Linked DNA regions of Homo sapiens: region 1 is linked to region 2. The links are contacts of gene promoters, found by promoter capture Hi-C in human tissues and cell types (Jung and others, 2019). All regions are on one chromosome and are shown on one strand. Each heading gives the region's core, a stretch centred on a gene start or on the middle of the fragment in contact. The rest is flanking DNA. Distances are from core to core; before and after follow the strand shown. Region 1 has its middle 140 kb from the start of TEX29. Region 2 holds the start of SPACA7 (sperm acrosome associated 7).

Region 1 (5,184 bases), core at 1,597-4,096, 920 kb before region 2:
TAACTCTCCAGGAACATGCTGCTACATTTGGTGAACCCATTTACAGTTGTGGAAAAGCCACAGTGAAGTCTCTTTGTGGAATAGAAGTGACATGATTTATAATAAGATCAGATCTGCAATCTATGACCTTTGATATAAATTATTTAGGACCAATAATATCAGAAAAGATGTTTAGTTCTAACTTGTCAAAAGTATTTTTTTAAAAGACAGCTTTTTTGAGGCTTAATTGACACACAATAAACTGTTCATCTTTAAAGGGTATAATTTGATAAGTTTTGATAAATGTATAGAAATGAGAAACCATCAACACAATGAAAAGAACAAACGAATTTCTCACTCTTAAAAGTTTTCTTATTTCATTTTGTAACCTCCTCTCTCATTCCCTTGTCCCATCAAATACTCTAGATTAGTTTATATTTTCTAGAGCTTTATAAAGTGGAATAATATAGTATGTGGTCCTTTTAGTCTGGCTTCTTTCAGAGTCCAGTGGGATTCTCAAAAACAGCTACTGGAACTAATCAGTGAGTTTAGCAAGGTTGCAAGATATAAGGTCAATATGTAAAAATATATCAAATTTCTAGGTACTAGAAGCTAACATATAGAAACAAAAACTACTATTTATGAAAGTAGCAAATAATATAAACTATTTAGAAATACATCCAACAAAAATATGTAGAAAGTTCACTGCAAACTATAAAATATTGCTGAGAGAAATTAAAGAAGCTCTAAATAAATGTAGAGATATACCATGTTCATGGATCAGAAGATTTAATAGTCTTAAGATGTCAGTTCTCCCCACATTTATCTGAAGATTCAACATGATACCAATTAAAATTCTAGCAGGCTTTTTTGGTATAAATTGATGAGATGCTTATGAAAATTATACGGAACTGCCAAGGACCTAAAGTAGCCAAAACAATTTTGAGAAAGAGAAACAAGTTTGAAAGACTTACACTTTCTATTTTATGATTTATTATAAAGTTACGGAGATCAAAACAATGTGATTTTGGTGTACAGAGAGAGACAGACAATTAAAGGAAGAGAGTAGAGAGCACATACATAGAATCACACATATATGGATAATTGATTTTTGATAAAGATACAAAGGCAATGGAGTAGAGAAAGAATAGTCTTTTCAATAAATCATTCCAGAAAAATTGGGTATCCATTTACAAAAGGGAACTTTAATTCATACCTCACACCACAAGCAAAGGTGAACTCAAAATAGATTGCACTTATAAATGTAAAACCTAAAACTATAAAACTTCAAGAAGTAAACACAAGATAAAATCTTTATGACCTTGGATTAGGTAAGATTTCTCAGGCATATTATAAAAAACACAATTATAAAAGAAAATAATTGACAAATTAGGCTTCATAAAAATTAAGATCATCAGTTTTTCAAAAGATGTTTTTTGGAGAATGAAAAGTCAGGGCACAGACTAGGAGAAAACCATGTGTCTAATAAAGAACATGTATTTAGACTATCAAAGGGACTCTTAAAGAAGATATGCAGATGAGGAGCTGGTGGTTTCCTAAGTGGTTAGACATACACCTACCATAAGGTTGCCATTCCACCTATGGGTATTTACTCAAAAACAAAACAACAACAACAAAAAAAACCTTGTATGTCCAAACAAAGACTTGTACATGGATGCTTAGCATTTTTTTTCTTTTTTTGTGATGGAGTTTCACTCTTGTCACCCAGGCTGGAGTGCAATGGCATGATCTCTGCTCACTGCAACTTCTACCCCCTGGGTTCAAGCAATTCTCCTGCCTCAGCCTCCTGAGTAGCTGAGATTACAGGTGCCCACCACCACGCCTGGTTAATTTTTATATTTTTAGTAGAGGTGGGGGTTTCACCATGTTGACCAGGCTGGTCTTGAACTCCTGTCCTCAGGTGATCTACCCACCTTGGTCTCCCAAAGTGCTGGGATTACAGATGTGGGCAACCACACCCAGCCAAATGCTCAGTATTTGTAATAGCCCAAAGTGAAACAATTCAAGCACCCCTCATGTTGAAATGTAATCTTCAATGTTGGAGGTGGGTCCTACTGGGAAGTGTTCGGGTCATGGTTGTGGATCACTTATGAGTGGCTTGATGCCCTTCCCATGGTAATGAGTGAGTTCTCACTCTATTAGTTCACAGGAGAGCTGGCTGTTAAAAGGAGTCTGTCACCTCCTCCCCCGTCTCTCATGCTCCTTCTTTTGCCATGTGACACACCTGTTCCCTCTTTGCCTTCTGCCATGATTGGAAGCTTCCTAAGACTTCCTCAAGAAGCCGGGAAGATGCTGGTGCCAAGCTTGTGCAGCCTGCAGTACTGTGAACCAATTACACCTGTTTTCTTTATAAATTACCCAGCCTCAGGTATTCCTTTATAGCAACACAAAGCAGACTAATACATGTACAATAGAATACTACTTAGGAATGTAAAGGAATAAATATTGATACTTACAACAACATGGATGAATTTCAGAATAATCATGCTGAGCAAAAGTCAGGCAAAAGGATGCATCCTTTATTCTTTCATTTATATAAAATTCTAGAAAATGTAAACTAATCTACAGTGACAAAGTAGGGCAGGGGCCTATGGGAGGGAGAGAGGGAAGGATGATGAAGGAGCATGAGGAAGCTTGGGCTGATGGACGTGTTCGCTATCTTGATTGTGGTGATGGTTTCGTAGGCATATGTTTATGTCAAACCTCAAATCACACAATTTAAGTAAATGCCATTTATTGTATGCCAATTATATTTCAATAAAAATATATTCTTCCATTTCCCCCAAAAAACGCTAGAGAAATGCCTCAGGCAGAACCTTAGTGAGACAATGTATTTAATGCATCTAGAGCAGGGCCTGATGTATCAGGTGCACTCAATAAAGGGTACTTTTCTTTCACTTTCCTTCCCCACCCCATCAAAATATTTAGATTACTGTACATCCAGTACAGAAACTTGTAGTTTCTCCTGTACAGATTATGGTGGAGCAGAAAGGCACTCATGTTTTGATCCTCAAAGGTCATTCAATACTATTTGTTTGAGGCTGAAACTTTTCAATGCTTTCACAGTATTTGGAACAAGACATGATTACCAGAAGCACATGTAGTTCAGTGTTGAAATTTCATTTTTTTGAAATGCATCTGGGTTTTAAAAATGTAGTTGCATGATTGAGCTTTTGCATGGAGGCCATCTTCATCCAGGAAGCATTTATTGAGGGCCCTCCGAGGTGTTTCTGACGCGTAGCAAAGGCTGTTAAATGAGTTACAGAAACGACCCAGCACGGCCGACACCTCCTTGTTCGGCTGTTGGCAGTTCTGTTCTTTGCCGCCTCCTTCCTGGTGGGCTCTGGGTGAGCCACTGCCATATACACTCTTTTATGTTGGTGTCTTTCCCTTTATCGCTGTCACTGTGTGCCTGTCTCAGCAGTGTCGTGCCTAAGTGTGTTGCGACATCTCCACTTCCACCCATTTCTGTGGAGGCTTCCTTCATTTTTGGTGCCAAGAGGTACCACGTGCCTGAAGCTGAGTTGCACCAAGGGAGGCTCTGGAATGTCAGGCACCAGTCTTTGAACCTACATGCAAGAAACGGTGAAATAATTTGATTTCCTCTCAAGAGGGGAATACAGGATGCAAAATGGAGACCTTTGTGTATGGAAGCCTTTGATGAGACTTGTGCCTGGAGGCCTTCTTTCAATGGTGACCGCAATGTGGGCAAAGCCTCCCTTGCAGAACCTCCAGCGAGTGTGGAAGAAGCCGCCCAGGAAGCTTTTGCCATATGGTGAGGGGGACCCACAGGAGGGAGCCATGCTCCCTGAGAGCAGGCTTCATCCCGGACGCTGGCCTGGGGTGTCTGGCACGTGCTGCCATTCCCCCATTTCCACCAGCCTGGCGCTGGGATGCAGCAAATGACTGCATGCAACTTACAAATGCATCGTGGATTCCACCAAATGATAAACGAGAGGATATTGTCCCCTGAGCTCACAAATGAAAAGTCAACAATTTAAGCAACAGTTGATGTCCCGCTTGTCTACCCCCAGTGACCCTGGTTTCATGGGGCAGAAAGGGCTCTTGCCTCTGTCTCTGTGTAACTGCTGACTGTACCTTGAAGTGCACCCTTTATCAGAGATAGATGCTATCAGTCAAAGTCGGTATCAGGACAATTCTCCACTGATACATGGAGTTAAATCTACAGTTGTGTGAGTTCCCAGGAAGCTCTTAACTCCAGGGAAAGTGGAGAGATGGAGAGCTTATTCCATAACATTTTTGTTAGACTTCCTCTCATTCTTTTCTTTGCAGCATCTACACCACTTGCAGAGACCCTGAATTAGTGTTTTTGGGATTATGTATGTGTACTGAAGACAGCAATTTAACTCTGAGTGTACCCTCCTAATATTCATGGAAACTGATTCTAATTACACTCTTGTCTCTTGGGTTAACGACTTCTAAATAGTGCCTTCACTCACCGCCCTTTCCCGATTGTCTGGCATTGTAAAGCCTCCATGCAGCGTGTGCGGGGAGGTAGGGTGCTATGCTGTTCTTTCTCAGGGAACTCCCTGGCTGCTGTAGTGACCGCCATTCCTTATCTAAATACTCACAGTGGGAGCTTTTGAATTTTCCTCCGTTGCATGTTTTTGGCACTTCTCAAGACAAGGTCCATGGGGCATTGGTGACCTTCAGGGGTCCTTTGGTGCTCATGGCTCAGAATGCAGGGGAGCAGCACCAGGGCTGGCTATCTCCTGATGGAGGCGGGGCGCTGGGGGTCGGAGGCACGGGCCCACAGCACGGGCAGCCCTAGCTCCGCTGCTCCCCAAGCTCTGCTGCTCCCCAGCTGTGTGGCCTGGGGTGCAGTAACCGGGTCTTTCTCTTTTCTCTATTTCTGAGTCTTTGACTTTGCTGAGCCTGGAAGGACGGCCCATTGCAGGGTCGGCCAATTCCTTGATAGTGATCACCTCACCTATGCACGTGCCTATCGCATGCAAACCCACAGTCTGGAGCCCACGCCCCACCATCTCCTCCTCTGGGCACTCACATGGCTCACACTGCAGTGGCCACTGTCCCCCTGCCACGGTCACTCCAGGACAGGTACCAGACACTTAGGGGCAGCCCCAATTCCCCAGAGCCCACTGAAATCACTCAGTAACTAGGACTGAAAGCAGCCAGTCCTGAGCTTGTCCCACCCCACCCAAC
Region 2 (5,612 bases), core at 2,382-4,881:
CTCTGTTGCCCGGGCTAGAGTGCAGTGGCATAATCACAGCTCACTACAGTCTCTGTCTCCCCAAGGTCAGGTGATCCTCCTACCTCGGCCTTCTAAGTAGCTGAGACTACAGGTGCATGCCACCACACCCAGCTAATTTTCGTATTTTTAGTAGATACAGGGTTTCACCTTATTGGTCAGGCTGGTCTCGAACTCCTGACCTCAGGTGATCCACCCGCCTCGGCCTCCTAAAGTGCTGGGATTACAGGTGTGAGCCACCGCACCCAGTTTTTTTTTTTTTTTTTTTTTTTGAGATGGAGTCTCGATCTGCTACCCAGTCTAGAATGCAGTGACACAATCACGGCTCACTACAGCCTCTGCCTCCCCAAGGTCAGGTGATGCTCCTACCTTAGCCTTCCAAGTAGATGGGACTGCAGACATTTACCACCATGCCTGGCTAATTTTTGTATTCTTTGTAGAGATGACGTTTTGCTCTGTTGCCCAGGCTGGTTTCAAACTCCTAGGCTCAAGCGATCCACCCACCTCAGCCTCACAAAGTGCTGGGATAACAGGTGTGAGCCACTGGACCTAGCCTTGCATTTTTCTTTTAATTTTTAAAATTTTTACATTTCCAAAAATTAAAAAAATAAGGAAAGCCTGTTTATTTTAAAAGAGCCATAAAGAGTTCTTTCCTCTTTCCCCTGGAAGATGCAGGAAACAAATCTCTATTGGTATATGACAGAAACAATCTCTCAACTGAAATGCAACCATGGAGAAAAAACTTCTAGGAGTCATATGCTGCTGCTATGACAGTTATGCAAATGAATTAAAGTCCCCATTCAAAGAAACTGGTATAAATAGATTAATTTGTTAAATTCCCTTCTGGTTTTAATGTTGCATGCAAATACAAATGCAAAGGGAATTATGTGTAAAATTGTTGCTAAAAGACAGCAAAGAATAAGAAAAATAAATTTGCCATCAACCTCCCAAGGGTTGGTGAGAGATTCTTCAAACTAGAATCTCATAAAGCAACTGATTAAAAACACATACCAGACACTCTAACCTCTTCTTTCCAATTAGCTAAGCAAATCTATGAAACGCGGGGGGCAGAGCTCTGTGAACTAAGCCAGTCTGACTACCATATATATTTTTTAGACAGAGTCTTGCTCTGTCACCCAGGCTGGAGTGCAGTGGCGCGATCTCCGCTCACTGCAAGCTCCGCCTCCCAGGTTCATGCCATTCTCCTGCCTCAGCCTCCCGAGTAGCTGGGACTACAGGTGCCCACCCAGTTAATTTTTTTGTATTTTTAGTAGAGACGGGGTTTCACCGTGTTAGCCAGGATGGTCTTGATCTCCTGACCTCGTGATCCGCCCACCTCGGCCTCCCAAAGTGCTGGGATTACAGGCGTGAGCTACCGCGCCCGGCCTCTGACTACCATATTTTAGTGCTCAAATCTGTTCCTCCACTCCTGCATCTGGGATTAGTTTGACTCATTTGGCCGATGAGACATTAGCAAATGTGGTGCAAGAAAAGGCTTGTTTGCATCGAGGCTTACTCTCCTTTCTGCTGTGACCAAGCCCAGGCTGCCTGCTAGAGGCCGAGAGACCACATGGAGGGAAGCCTCAGCCATCCCAAGCCCCAGCATCCTAGCTAAGGCCTCAGACATGTCCATGAGGCCACACTAGGCCAGCAGCCCCCAGAGCCAACCCACAAAGTTGTAAGCAATCACACATGGGCTGTATCAAGTCACCGAGCTTCGGGCAGCCTTGAGAATGACTCCTTCCTCGACCAAATCAGCGAGGCTCCTCTGACCCCTCTTCTCAACGAGGCCTCGCCCCCAGCCCTGATCAAATTCCTCATCCTCCGCCTTGAGGTGGAAGTCCCTGGCCTGCCTTAGCCAGACATCCCTCCTTGGTGCAGTGGGTGTCGTTCGACAGGCAGCAGTGCAGGGTTCTGCTGTCATGGGAGCTCTGGCTGCTGTCCGTTTGTACATTCAGCCTCTTAGGCCCATGCTGCTGGCCCCAAAATGACATTCTGAGTAGCAAGAGCCTGGGTTATAGAAGCAAGCATCTCACTTGGACCATTCATTAACTCAGAGTGGGACTTGGAACCCACTGGGTTTCTGTAAATGTCAACCATGCTTAGTGTGCCTTTATGGACACGCTGAAAATCTGAAATATACTCCCCACACCTTGAGGTAGATTGGCTACCACTGCATCTATCAAAAGGAAAACCTGAGCAAAAATGTGCTGTGGGTTCCCATACAAGCAATAAAAATTAAAGAGCCAGAGACCCATGGTGGGTCAGCCATCCTTGGGGTCCTGACCAGACCTCGGGGGCATTGTTAGTCTTGTGCGTCCAGGGCCCCAGTGATATGGTTTGGCTCTGTGTCCTCACCCAAGCATCATCTTGAATTATAATCCTCATAATCCCACGTGTTGAGGGAGGGACTTGGTGGGAGGCGATCTGATCATGGGAGTGGATTCCTGCATGCTGTTCTCATGATAAGTGAGTTCTCACTAGAGCTGATGGTTTTATAAGTGTTTAACAGCTCCTCCTTCATGTACTCTCTCTCCTGCCGCCTTGTGAAGAAGGTGCCTGCTTCCCCTTCCGTCATGATTGTAAGTTTCCTGAGGCCTCCCCAGCCATGCAGAACTGTGAGTCAATTAAATCTCTTTTCTTTATAAATTACCCAGTCTCAGGGAAGTTCTATATAGCAGTGTGGGAACAGACAAACACACCAGCCCTCTCCACCATGGAGCTGGGATCTGAGGGCTGTTCACCTGGGACCCCACCACCGGCCGAGTCTAGACCAGCTGCCCCACTCTGAGCCCTGGATGTAGGAGTCAGTCCAGGGGTGAGATAGGATCCAGGGGAGCCAACCAGAGTGACTCCTTTGGGGTTTTGTCACTGCACGGATGGAGAAAGCTCTAGAAAGTCTAGGAGATAGAGCTGGGAGGATGATAACATGGAAATGCAGCCATGTTCTCCTCTCGTGATTAAAGTCTCACTGCCAGGGAAAGATTGGGGCTGATGCTGAGAAAGAAGGTGTGGGGGAAAGGAGGCTGAAACCTGGGTCATCTGTCTCCTGTTCTTCATGATCCTGGAACTTTGAGGGTGGGGGAGGGTGGGAGGGGACATGGGGCCACGGGCCTCTGTTCTTCAAGGCTCTGTTCTTCAAGGGACCTTTAAGAGGTGATTAGACCCTCTGGATCTGTCGGTTCTGGCACTTGCTCTGTAATTCAACCACCTCTCCAGCATCCTTCAAATACGCCTCTTTCCATGGGAGCAGATTTTGTTGGCTTTTGGCCACTGGCCCTTAAGTCCTGATTAGTATCTACCCCTTGAGTCCTCAGGGTGCTCAGGACAGAGGAAGTCACCAGAACAGGCAATAAGAAAGAGTGGAGAGGATCTCTGTTACCTTAAGACCCCAGTGAGCCTCCTCCCTGCTTCCCAGTCACAGACTCTGGACAGAAACCCTGCCCCCCGCCCCTGGCAAGATGCCAGCTCCCTTCCTGGTCCTGATGTCACAGGTCCCTGGACATGACCTCCCCACCAGGGCAGGACCCCAGCTCCCTTCCTGGTTGTGATGTCACAGGTCCTGACATTCCACAGTGTCCTGGAGACCAAGGATGGGAAACTGTCAACCTTCAGAACGTCCTTCTCCCTCAGCTGGAGGGAGCATGGCAGTGAGCCAAGGAGACGGGACCCTCTGCTTTGTCCTCCTGCTGTGCTGTTGGCAAGAAACTGAGCTCCGGCCGAGAACCGTGATTCCAGGTAGGGCCCCACAGGGATGTCTCAGCAGAAAGAGAACTGAACCAGGTGGGGAGCGGCGGCCTCTTCTCCCATGGGTTCCTCTTATTCCCAACCTACATGAATTTACCATTTATTCCTTGGGGAATGAATGTAGCTGAAAAGTCTTTCTATCTTTGAAGACTTTTTAAAATCTAGATGTCCATAGGAAAGTTGCAAATGTTACTTATTTTAACTTTTTATTATGGAAAATTTCTAACTGGGAAGAATATCATGAACCTTCGTGTATTCACCCTCAGGTTCAATTATTGTGCATATTTTGTTTTTTTCTACACACACACACATACACACTCCACACCACATACACACACTTTTCTTGTTTGGGGAGTATTTTAGCACCATCCCAGATGCCTTACCACCTCATGTAAAACATTTTCTTGCGAAGAGATAAAAGCATTATCTACAATGTCATAATCAGACTAACATAATTACCAAAAGCCTTTATCTCAGCTCATACCGTTAAAAAATATTTGTGATGCTTGCTAAAGATGGGCAGGCAGCCTTTATTCAAAGGGGGCTACTACCATGGTGTCTCATAATAGTGGAGAGTGGGCTCAACTCCAAATACAGGGAAAGTGGAGATTTGCAGCCAAGGATCAGGGTGGGTCAGTGGATGAACATTGCTAAAAGGTAGGAGAATTCTTTGCTAAACTGATTCAGCAAAGGCCAAGAGGGCTTTTATAAACAAAAATGAAGCATTTATATTTTTTGTCCCACCTGATTACTCTAGAATTTGGATATTATGATTTTCAGGACCATACAATTGTTTGCATAAGTTTAATAAAAATTGATTATCCTTGCAACAGGACACAAAGGTCTGCTATCTTTGAAGACCTTTTAAAATCTAGACATCCATGAGAGAGTTGCATATGTTACTTATTTTAACTTTTTATTATGGAAAATTTCTAACTTGGAAGAATATCATGAACCTCCATGTATTCACCCTCTAGTTCAATTATTGTGTATATTGTGTTCGGCCAAACAGGAGGCCAGACCTGAAAGGAAGCCAAGGCAATAAAATAATCAAAGATGGAGGGTGAGGAATTTGATCAGATATCAAGGGTGACCAGGCCAAGACTAGGGGATTTCCACTAAAAGACTTCACAGGATTCCTACTAAACATGGGGAAAAGCAGACAAAAGCAGAAGCTAGGGTCAAGGCCTAGTCAAAGAGAAGACTCAGAGGAGCCTGGCATGAGGTAAGTCAAGGAGCGAGGCTTTCTCATTCCCTCCTCTTGTTCAAGAAAGAAGAGACATTCCTTTTCTCTTTGAACAAGATAAGTCCATGTTTCATCTGGTGGAGGATGTGTGCTGGATGGTACAAGTAGTCGGGAATTTAATGAGGGGAATGTCTACGAAAAAGAGAAGAAAAACAAAGATTTATAGTTGGAAACACAGTTTCCGAATCCAGAGGGCAGTCTGTTGAGAAGATTTCTGGATTTTGGGCTCAAGGTATCTTCAGCCGATGGGGCAAGGATGGATTTCCTAGTTTGCAGGGGGTGTGTCCTTGGTGACATCATGACCATCAGAGCCACAGTCATGGTTATGCTGGGGGCAGAGCGTGGATGTGTCCAGCTTCAGCCTTTCCAGATGGTCCCACGGAAGGCCTGAGTTGTCAGGCTTTAGTTCTCACTAACACCCAGTCAGGAGGGCAGAAGAAAGACTGGAAATGTTAGCCTGGGAACATTGAAGGACTCTAAAAGGCTTCAGGATCCAGTCCAGTTTACAGGTAGATAACAAAGTAGAAAGTAAGGTGGAGTTTATCAAAAGATAAAAAAAAGTAGAATACACAGGGTTATAACTCACAAGGGTGTGCTACCA

The links. Contacts are between HindIII fragments. The study calls those that stand out against the background at their distance.
Region 1: a contact is called between a fragment that was not itself captured here and the fragment with the promoter of SPACA7 in region 2, in 1 of the 25 tissues and cell types used here (dorsolateral prefrontal cortex).

The regions. Positions count from the first base shown.
Region 1 is chr13:111,453,200-111,458,383 of GRCh38, forward strand. No RefSeq gene overlaps it. Among named protein-coding and RNA genes, the nearest start is that of TEX29, 140 kb to the left of the region's middle. The HindIII fragment of the contact is 4,337 bases long and covers 679-5,015 here.
Region 2 is chr13:112,372,724-112,378,335 of GRCh38, forward strand. SPACA7 (sperm acrosome associated 7) reads left to right here and starts at 3,632. Exons shown (of 7, transcript NM_145248.5): 1 at 3,632-3,756. The coding sequence starts at 3,663. LOC105370373 (a long non-coding RNA gene) reads right to left here and starts at 3,555. Exons shown (of 3, transcript XR_944295.3): 1 at 3,401-3,555. RefSeq lists an enhancer at 5,084-5,612. The HindIII fragment of the contact is 14,702 bases long and covers 1-5,612 here.